3 separate regions of the Homo sapiens genome follow, and regions 1 and 2 are each linked to region 3. The links are contacts of gene promoters, found by promoter capture Hi-C in blood cells and fetal thymus (Javierre and others, 2016). All regions are on one chromosome and are shown on one strand. The core of a region is centred on a gene start or on the middle of the fragment in contact, and the rest is flanking DNA. Distances in the headings are between cores, read along the strand shown.

What was found. The method cuts DNA at HindIII sites, captures the fragments that hold promoters and counts their contacts. A CHiCAGO score of 5 or more calls a contact.
Region 1: a contact is called between a fragment that was not itself captured here and the fragment with the promoter of TRAM2 in region 3, in 1 of 17 cell types (megakaryocytes). The highest score is 6.3, in megakaryocytes.
Region 2: a fragment that was not itself captured here is called in contact with the fragment with the promoter of TRAM2 in region 3 in 4 of 17 cell types (megakaryocytes, endothelial precursors, M2 macrophages and 1 more); the score reaches 12.1 in megakaryocytes.

The regions. Positions count from the first base shown.
Region 1 is chr6:52,461,164-52,464,413 of GRCh38, reverse strand. All of the region lies in intron 5 of EFHC1 (EF-hand domain containing 1), which reads right to left. Among named protein-coding and RNA genes, the nearest start is that of EFHC1, 42 kb to the right of the region's middle. The HindIII fragment of the contact is 1,663 bases long and covers 920-2,582 here.
Region 2 is chr6:52,656,965-52,660,261 of GRCh38, reverse strand. It overlaps the pseudogene LOC724104. Among named protein-coding and RNA genes, the nearest start is that of TMEM14A, 12 kb to the left of the region's middle. The HindIII fragment of the contact is 7,617 bases long and covers 1-3,297 here.
Region 3 is chr6:52,575,107-52,578,309 of GRCh38, reverse strand. It overlaps TRAM2 (translocation associated membrane protein 2), which reads left to right and starts at 1,250. Exons shown (of 11, transcript NM_012288.4): 1 at 1,250-1,514. The coding sequence starts at 1,395. It overlaps TRAM2-AS1 (TRAM2 antisense RNA 1), which reads right to left and starts at 1,108. Exons shown (of 3, transcript NR_103446.1): 1 at 1-1,108. RefSeq lists a silencer at 678-1,537. The HindIII fragment of the contact is 3,868 bases long and covers 1-2,446 here.

The DNA.
Region 1 (3,250 bases), core at 502-3,001, 110 kb after region 3:
TTCATGGAGAAAATATTCTCTTTGGGGAGACAGACACTAAAAAATTATATAAATGATGGTTTCATTTCAGGTTGTAATCACTGCTATGAGGACAGTGTAAGCTAGTCCTGGAGACAGGGGGCAGGGACAGTCAATGAGATGATGACAATAATCCATTCATGTGGGAATAAATAATTTCCAAATGTAGAATCAATCTTGCATTTGTGGAATAATTCCATTCTTGTCTTACTGTTTCATGAGAACTAAGGATTAACTTGTTTAAGATTGATTACCTGCAGCCTGGCATCCAAGGAAATCTTAAGAGTCAATCAGTTCTAGTAGAGTGCCACATCTTATAGTTGTAACCACAAAGCTTTGGCACAGAACCCTGATCACAAGGGGGATGAAAAGTAGGCTGATGTTCTCCTAACTAGTAATTACTGAGATTGAAAAACTGGAATAAGGCTAAGTTTCTGCTATAACAGGCATAAAAGTTTGAACTCCAGCCCTTGATCATAGCAAAGGAGGGCCTGGTATTTCCCTAATAATGCATCTTATTAATAACAGCTCTATAGTCCAAGGGATCTGTCTCCCTATGTCTATTCTCAACCCTACTACCTCCCTTTGAGCTTCCCCAGGAAGTGATGGGCAATGAGGGACATAGCTTGTGATTATATTAACTTCCTTTAGTATACAATATTCCAGGAGATCTGGTATATGTGTGTGTGCTGTCCAGCCATCTGCCTTTGTTTGCTCAACAAATTATTTTTTCATATAATGCTGGATCAGGTTTACTGATATCTTGTTTAGGATTTTTGCACATATCTTCTTAAGTGAGAATGACTGTAGTTTTTCTTTCTCATGGTGACTTTGGTTTCACTGGCCTTTTTAAATGAAAGAATTAAGAAGTTCTTCTCTCTAAAAGGGTTTGTGTTAAGCTTAGAATTACCTGTTCTTTAAATGTTTGTCAAAAATCATCTGTAAGATTATCTGGATCTGCTGGATTTTTTGTGGGAAATGTTTAAACTAAATCTATTTCTTTAATGGCTGAAGATATTTGGTTTTCTATTTCTTCATAAACAAGTTATACTTTTTTAAAACTTTGCTCGTTTTGGCCGGGCACAGTGGCTCATGCCTATAATCTCAGCACTTTGGGAGGCCGAGGTGGGCGGATCAAAACCACGCTGGCTAACACGGTGAAACTCTGTCTCTACTAAAAATACAAAAAAAAAAAAAAAAATTAGCTGGGTGTGGTGGCGGGCACCTGTAGTCCCAGCTACTCGGGAGGCTGAGGCGGGAGAATGGTGTGAACCCGGGAGGCGGAGCTTGCAGTGAGCCGAGATCAGGCCACTGCACTCCAGCCTGGGCGACAGAGAGAGACTCCGTCTCAAAGACAAAAACAAACAAAACAAAACAAACAAAAACAAAACAAAAAAAACTTTACTCATTTTACCTAAGTTTTTAAATTTATTGGCATAAAGTTGTATTATTATTTTATTTTATGTTTAATGGCTATGGCACTTTAAAGAATGCTTTTTTTTTTTTTTTTGAGACAGTCTTGCCCTGTTGCCCAGCCTGGAGTGCACTGGCACAATCTCGGCTCACTGCAACCTCTGCCTTCCAGGTTCAAGCAATTCTCCTGCCTCAGCCTCCTAAGTAGCTAGGACTACAGGTGCGTGCCACCATGCTGGGCTAATTTTTGCATTTTTAGTAGAAATGGAGTTTCACACCACATTAGCCAGGCTGGTCTCGAACTCCTGACCTCAAGTGATCCGCCTGCCTTGGCCTCCCAAAGTGCTGGGATTACAGGTGTGAGCCACCATGCCCAGCCACTTCTTTCATTTTTAATATGGTGTATATGTGCCTTCTTTTGTTTATCCCTTCATAAATCTTGTCTATAGTTTGTCACTTTATTAGTCCTTTCAAGGAGATGACTTTTGACTTGACAAATCTTCTCTGTTACCTTTGTTTTCAATTTCTTTATTTTCAGCCTCTTATTTTATGATTTCCTTCTTTTAATTTCTTAATATTTTAATTTTTAAATTCTTTAGATTTCTAACTTTTTAAGAAATATGCCTAACTTATTGTCATCTTTCTTCTTTCTTAAGTAAGCATTTAAAGCTATATATTTTCCTCCAAGTACCTCTTTTTTTTAGAGTTTTAAGAGTTTTTGCTACCATTCAGTTCTAGGTATTTTCTGACAATATTTTTTTTTAACTCATGGGTTATCTGAAAATATGTTTTTCAATTTCCAAATACACGGTTTTTTTCATGTTATATTTCCAAAATTGACTTCTAACTTAATTTTGTTGAAAATTGGGTGTTGGGTAAGCATATATATATTAAATGAATAATAATATTATTCAAGTCTTATACCTGTTTATTGATTTGTCTTTTTGATCTAACAACTATTGAAAGAAATGTTTTAATGGCTCCCACTATTATGCTATATTTTTCCAGTCTCACTGAATAATGGTGCTACAGATTTTTCTTATATTTTGAATCCATGTTATTACTGCATTCAAGTTTAGAATTATTATATTTTCCTAGTAAATAAAATATTCTTGCAATAGGTAATGATCCTCTTCATCTCAATCAAAGCTTTTTGCCCAAATGTCTTTTTGTATTATACTAATATAGCTTCATCAGTTGTTTTATACCTCATCAGTTTCTTTTGCTATTTATTTTTCTTTTTAAAGATATTTGCCTATATCTTAAGTATGTTTTTAAAAACACTTTTATATATTGTTCATGGGAGGGTAAATGAGTTCAAACACCGTGGAAAGCAGTGTGGTGATTCCTCAAAGACCTAAAAACAGAACTACCCATTCGACCCAGCAATCACATTACTGGGTATATCTCCAAAGGAATATAAATCATCCTATCATAAAGAAACGCAAGTGTATGATCACTGCAGCACTATTCATAATAGCAAAGACATAGAATCAACCTAAATGCCCATCAATGACAGATTGAATAAAGAAAATGTGGTATATATACACCATGGAATACTATGCAGCCATAAAAAAGAATGAGATCATATCCTGTGCAGGAACATGGATGCAGCTGAAGGCCATTATCTTTAGCAAACTAATGCAGGAACAGAAAATCAAGTACCACGTTTCTCAATTATAAGTGGAAGCTAAATGATGAGAGCACATGGACACATAGGAGGGAACAATACACACTGGGGTCTATTGGAGGGTGAAGGGTGGGAGGAGGGAGAAGATCAGGAAAAATAACTGATGGGTGTTAGGCTTAATACCTGGGA
Region 2 (3,297 bases), core at 341-2,840, 82 kb before region 3:
AGGGTTCATTTCATAAAGATTACAGTAGCCCTCTTATCCATGGAGAGTACATTCCAGGACCCCTGGTGGATGCCTGAAACTGAATAGTACTGAACCGTATTACAGTCTACTATGTTTTTTTGATCTGATAACCAAGAGGGCTACTAAGTGACTAAACAAAAGGTAGCATAGACAGCATGGATATGCTGGACAAAGGGATGATTTTCATCTCAAGTGGGCTGGAGCAGTTGGTGTGAGATTTTATCATGCTACTCAGAATGGTGCACAATTTAAAACTTATTAATTATTTCTGGAATTTTTCCATTTAATATTTTTGGACAACCATTGGCTAAAACCGCAGAAAGTGAAACTATAAATCTACTGTATTGGGATGAAGATGAAGGGGAAGGAATTGCATTATTCATGAAATGGCTTTTTAAGACATTTTTGGGGCCAGGCACGGTGGCTCACGCCTGTAATCCCAGCACTTTGGGAGGCTGAGGCAGGTGGATCATTTGAGGTCAGGAGATTGAGACCAGCATTGAGGCCAACATGGTGAAACCCCATCTCTACTAAAAATTAAAAAAAGAAAAAATTAGCCAGGTGTGGTGGCACGCACCTGTAATCCCAGCTACTGGGGAGGCTGAGGCAGGAGAATTGCTTGAACCTGGGAGGCAGAGCTTGCAGTGAGCAGAGATTGCGCCACTGCACTCCAGCCTGAACGACAGAGTGAGACTCCACCTCGAAAAATAAATAAATAAAACATTTTTGGTAAATTATTCCAGTAGCAAAGTAGTTAGTAATGTTGGCTTTTAGGCTTAAGTTTTCAATTAGTGAAGTCAGATGAATAAGAAATGTCCAAGGCCTCTCCCTCATACTGACTGAGGCTGTGGCCAAAATGTAATAGGATGCGTCTATGTTGTTCCTTTTTACAAAGATATCTCTATAAAGAGAACTTTAGGAAAACTTTTGTTTCCTTCTCTTCTTAAACATCTCAGAGGCTTCTGAGATGCTTAATTCAGTGGTTCCCAAATTTGCTGCCTGTTGGATCACCTGGACATCTTTTAAAAATACTGATGTCTGGCTCCTTCTCCCGACATTGTAATTTAATTGCTATGGGCTGCAACCTAGGTATGAGAAGTGTTTTGTTGTTGTTTTGAGACAATTTTCTCTTATCGCCTAGGCTGGAATGCAATGGCGCAATCTCGGCTCACTGCAACCTCCTTCTCCTGGATTCAAGCGGTTCTCCTGCCTCAGCCTCCCGAGTAGCTGGGATTACGGGTACCTGCCACACATCGGGCTAATTTTTGTATTTTTAGTAGAGACAGGGTTTCACTATGTTGGCCAGGCTAGTCTCAAACTCCTGACGTCAGGTGATCCCCCCTCCCCGCACCGCCTCCGCCTCCCAAAGTGCTGGGATTACAGGCATGAGCCACCATGCCCGGCTGGGGAGTGTTTTTAAAATTAATTTTTTTATATTGAGATAGTTGCAGAATTACATGCAGTTGTAAGAAATAACACAAACAGTTTCCCTCAATGGTGTTTCCCCCAATGTTAATATCTTCCAAAATTCTAATAATACAATATCACAAACAGGACATTGACTTTGATACCGTCAAGATACAGAACATTTTCATCACCACAAATATCCTTTCCTCCCGTGGGTCTTTTATAACCACACCCACTTCCCCACCCACTGCAACTTTCTCTTTATCCTCTGGTAAGCTCTCATCTGTTCTCCATTTCTATAATTTTGTCATTTCAAGAATGTTATATAAATATAATCATACCATGAGCAACCTTTAGGGATTAGCTTTGTTCACTCAGCATAATTTTCTGGAGATTCATCCAGGTCGTTGCACGTATCAGTAGTTCATTCCTTTTTATTGCTAACCAGTATTCCACGGTATGGATATGCCACAGTTTGTTTAACCATCTGAATTGTTTCCAGGTTTGGGCTATTAAGAATAAACCTGCTATAAACATTTGTATACAGATCATTTTTGTGAAGATACATTTTTATTTCCCTGAGATAAATGTCTCTGAGTGGAATTATATAACACGTACATATTTAGTTTTTTAAGACACTGCCAAACTGTTTTCCAGAGTAAGCTGTACCATTTTATATTCCTACTAGCAATGAATGAGTGATCCAGTTTCTCCACATTCTTGCCAGATTTGGTGGTGTCACTATTTTATACGTTAGCCCTTCTGCTAGGTGTGTAGTGATATTGCATCATGGTTTTCTCTTTTGTTGTGTGTGTGTGTGTGTGTGTGTGTGTGTGTTTTCCAATGGAACAGCACATTTAATTGTCCTTAGGGTCCTCCTGGAGAGGGATTGTGGGGCCTTTGGCAAAGCTCTGGCCGATGGAAGCAACAGAGATGCCAGCATTTGGAGCTGTCGCTTAAGACAATTTCTGAGACTAGTGGGTAAGGAATGTTGCCTTTGAATAGAGAAGAGGAGACTACATTTAGAAAGGGGGAGAAGTGGTTTGTGTTGTGGAGAGGGACTCTAAGGTCAAGTTAGGAATGACAGGGAGTTGGTCACAAGGTCTTTCTTGGCCAGGTGAGAGCTGTAAGTAGAGTGTGGTGATGGAGTCCAGCAGGGGAACTGTGGGCCAGCTTGACTCAGGCCGGTTTCAGGAACTCCTGCAGCATGTTTTGTTCCACAGCCTCCATGAAGAGCTCAAAGCCTCCACGGTAGTGGTCCCCATTGACAATCCGGGGTGGGGCAGCCTTGGAGTTGCCCACCAAGACTCGCATCTCATCCCTCAGGGCGTTGTCCTGGGAGATGTCCACTAGTTGGTATTAGATGCGCTTCCTATCCAGGATTCAGGTCACCTCACTCTGCTGGGACTTGATTTTGTGGGAGCCAGTGACCGATGTGCTGTAGAGGTGCAGGCTGCTCATGCTGCAGGTAGATTGACAGGCCGGAGGGCAGAGGGCAGCGGTAATGGCAGCTGCACTATGAGGAGACTTCATCGCGGTTTTAATTTGCATTTCTCTAATGGCTAACGATGAGATTTTCATGGGCTTATTTGCCACTATTAGGTGAAATGTCTCTTTATGTCTGCATTAGGCCGTTCTTGCATTGCTTTAAAGAAATACCTGAGCCTGTAGTCCCAGCTATTCGGGAGGTTGAGGCAGGAGAATCGCTTGAACCGGGGTGGGGCAGAGGTTACAGTGAGCCAAAATCGCGCCACTGCACTCCATCCTGGGCAACAGAGCAAGACTCTGTCTCAGTCTCCCTCTCCCTCTCCCTCTCCCTCTCCCTCTCCCTCTCCCCATGGTCTCCCTCTCCCCACGGTCTCCGTCTCC
Region 3 (3,203 bases), core at 1-2,500:
GTTCCTCACAAGACGAAGGTTCAACTTTGAGAAAGGTCAGCCTTGAAGTTAAATGAGGTTTAGTCCAATCTAGGCATTACTTTGTCATTTCCTTGAGAGTCAGATAAGGGAATTACAGACCCAAGACTGTATTTTAAGTAAGGTGGAGTGCAGATTGAGGAAGTAAAATTTCTCTAGGAACTCCATCCTGTCTCAATTACATTCCACCGCGTGCCACTTTTAAAAAACCATATTTATTTAGAAGTGAAATAACTGTGGACCTAATAAAAAATGGAATAGGAATTAGTTTTTTTTGTTCATTACGTATTTCTGCACATCTAGAAAGTAACTGACTGCTTCATTACTGGTAGGATTAAATCCAATATTTGCGAATATAATTTATTAAGAACACCTTTTGTCCTTCCAGGAGTACTTTTAAGACTTAATATTAAATAGAAACTTTCAGTGAGAAAGTTCCTTCCTTTTTTGCTTCTTCTGTGTTTATTCTTCCACTTCTTCTGATTAATATGTAAGGTAGACTTTCGGTGAAATGTGTGTAGCTAATTAATGGTGGCATGAGGGTCCCAAAAATTACTGGGCAAAACTGCAATCATCCACCCTCTCCCCGCATTGGAGCGAAAGCTCCCCTAGGGCAGGGTCTTTCGGTTTGTTGATCTACCTGAACTGTGCCTAGCCCACTGCAAGTTCTCGATAAATACTTGAGTAATCTCCATTCACTGATCGTCCGTGCAGGGCGCTGTGGCCAGCCAGAAGGCCGGTTCGCGGCTTCCCTGCTTCCGCCGCACCCGCGCCGCCCTCAGCCCCCGGGGCCACAGCCCGCAACCCCGGGAGCATCCGGCTGCCCGGCCACCCCCGGGGCGCTCGCTGCCTCCGGGGCCTGCCCTTCCCGCGGAGGAAGGAGCGGAGCGAGGAGTGGGAAAGCTGGGCCCACTTCCTGTCCGGGCAGGCCTGGGCGCCCGCCTCCTCCGCGGCCTGCTTTCTCCACCGCGAGCGGCTGAGCCTCGGGCCCCGAGAATGCGGCCGGGCGCGGCGCTGGCGCGGGACGAGGAGGAGCCGAGCCCCGCTCGCCGCCCCCGTACGCCTCCGCCCCGGTAGCCCGCGCGTGCCCAGCGGCTAGAGGGTTAAGCCCGCGGGGGGCGGGGCCAGGCGCGCCGAGTGCGGGCCGCGGGCTGGGCGGGGGCTGGGCGGGGGCTGCGGCCGGGGGCGGTTACGGGCGGCCGGGGGCGGGCGGAGGAAGGGGGCGGGCCCCGAAGTTGTTCCGCGCTGGGCGGGCGAGCGGCTGTGGGAGAGCGGGCGGCGGGCCGGCGGGCGGACCGGGCCGGTGCTGGAGAAGTTTGCGCTGCGGTTCGTGAGCGCAGGGTGCGGGCCCCGCCGGCCGCTGCGCGCCCGCTGCCATGGCTTTCCGCAGGAGGACGAAAAGTTACCCGCTCTTCAGCCAGGAGTTCGTCATCCACAACCATGCGGACATCGGCTTCTGCCTGGTGCTCTGCGTCCTCATCGGGCTTATGTTCGAGGTGAGAGCCTGGGGAGGAGGGAGCTGGAGGGACAGTGCCCCCTGTCGTGCACCGCCCGGCACACCCCTGCAGGTCAGCGGGCCCTCCTCTGATCGGAGGCTCCTGGCTGCCGTGTACGTTATCTGCACCCCGGCTTTGTGCACTGTACCCCTCCGGCCTGTACCCCGGCCAGCCCAGACAGCACCCCCAGCTCCGCGCCGTGCCAGCCATGCCATGCTCTGCCGCCCCCTTGGGCACTCATCGTATCCTGCAGCTCTGTCTGCAGCCCTGAAACCCCAGCCTGGCCTCGAACCAACCGCCGCGCTGCCACCATGGCTTGACGCGTGGGGTTCCCTTTCTGGCGTCCAGGAGCCAAGCCCAGAGACTCCCAGACCCGCAGTCATTGCACAACCCCCTCTTGCCCCAAGGGGTGGCCACTAGCTCTTCTGGGCTTTTCCAGTGGGAGAGACCCAGAACCTTTTCCACTTCCTATGTGATTTTCTGGGTGTTTTGCATCTCAGCTCTGGAACGTGCTCGGATGTTCACGTGTGGCCCTGGCCCCATCCCAGCAGTGGCCTTCTGCTCTCGTCTCGCTCCCACTTTTTTGCTGTGCTCTAGAAGGCCAATTTTTGGATATCCTTTACCACTCCGTGAACTGTCCCTTTAGATCCATCTGCGGCGACCCAGAGCTTCACCCCCTTTACAGAGACAAGAAGAGAGACAGGGATACCCTCCACTTTTTGGGGAAAGTTGATTCTCTTATAGTGTAGGAGTGGGGGGCAGAGGATGGGGATCCCACCCCCAACAGCAATGTCCTGGTGTCGGCCTCCCAGGCAGGGAGTTGTAGAAAGCCAGCAAGGGGTCAGAATTCACAAGACTGATGGGAAGGATTCCCTACTCTTGCAGAGCAAGAAAAATGTGATATTCAAAAGTGGGAAGAACTGGAGGAAGCTTGGCATGGGTTTGTTGCGGTATATCTTGTCTCAGAAGTGAGATATGTGAGCGACATTCCCCTCACTCTCACCGTGGTCTCCTCTGGTTCCTGAGACTCCTTGTCCTCCCTTCTGCGTCAGCTTGCTTATTGCATTCTCACGGTTGGGTTAGGAAGCTGTGATCATTTACAAACTTCCTTGGAGATGGAGGATGGCTTGCCTGGCTAAATTTCCTTCCCTGTCCCTCTGTCTCGGGTTCCCTGTATCTCTACGAATGACAAGGGCCCTAATTGGCTGGCGAAGCTGCCCTCAAGCTGGGAACGTTCTTGTGGTGGCCAAGTCAGGGTTGGATGAATGAATGTGTCCGTGGCTGAGCTTTAGGGTCTGTAGGAAATAAACGGTGGTGCTAGGACTGGGGTCTCCACTCCACTTTTTGATAGTGCTCCTTTAGTTCAGTCCCTCTCTCCTTCCTCTCCCTCTCACAGCTCTCTCTAGTGGTATATTGGGTCGGGCTTGCTCCACCTTGTTCTGGGTTCTCCCCTGGAAGTGTGTGGTGTCACACAGAGTCATATCCGTGTGTCTCAGTCCCTGTTCTGTGACTAGTCTGACTGAAAACTGACTGCAGCCTCAGTTTCCCCATCATTAAAGACGTTCATAAAACTGGTCTTCGTCACAGGGTGGTTGTAAGGTTTAACTGAGATCATATCAGCAACAAAAGCCATAACATCTCCTACCAACATGAAAAAGTCTCTTGCGCCTGGAGCCCTGTGATTATTTA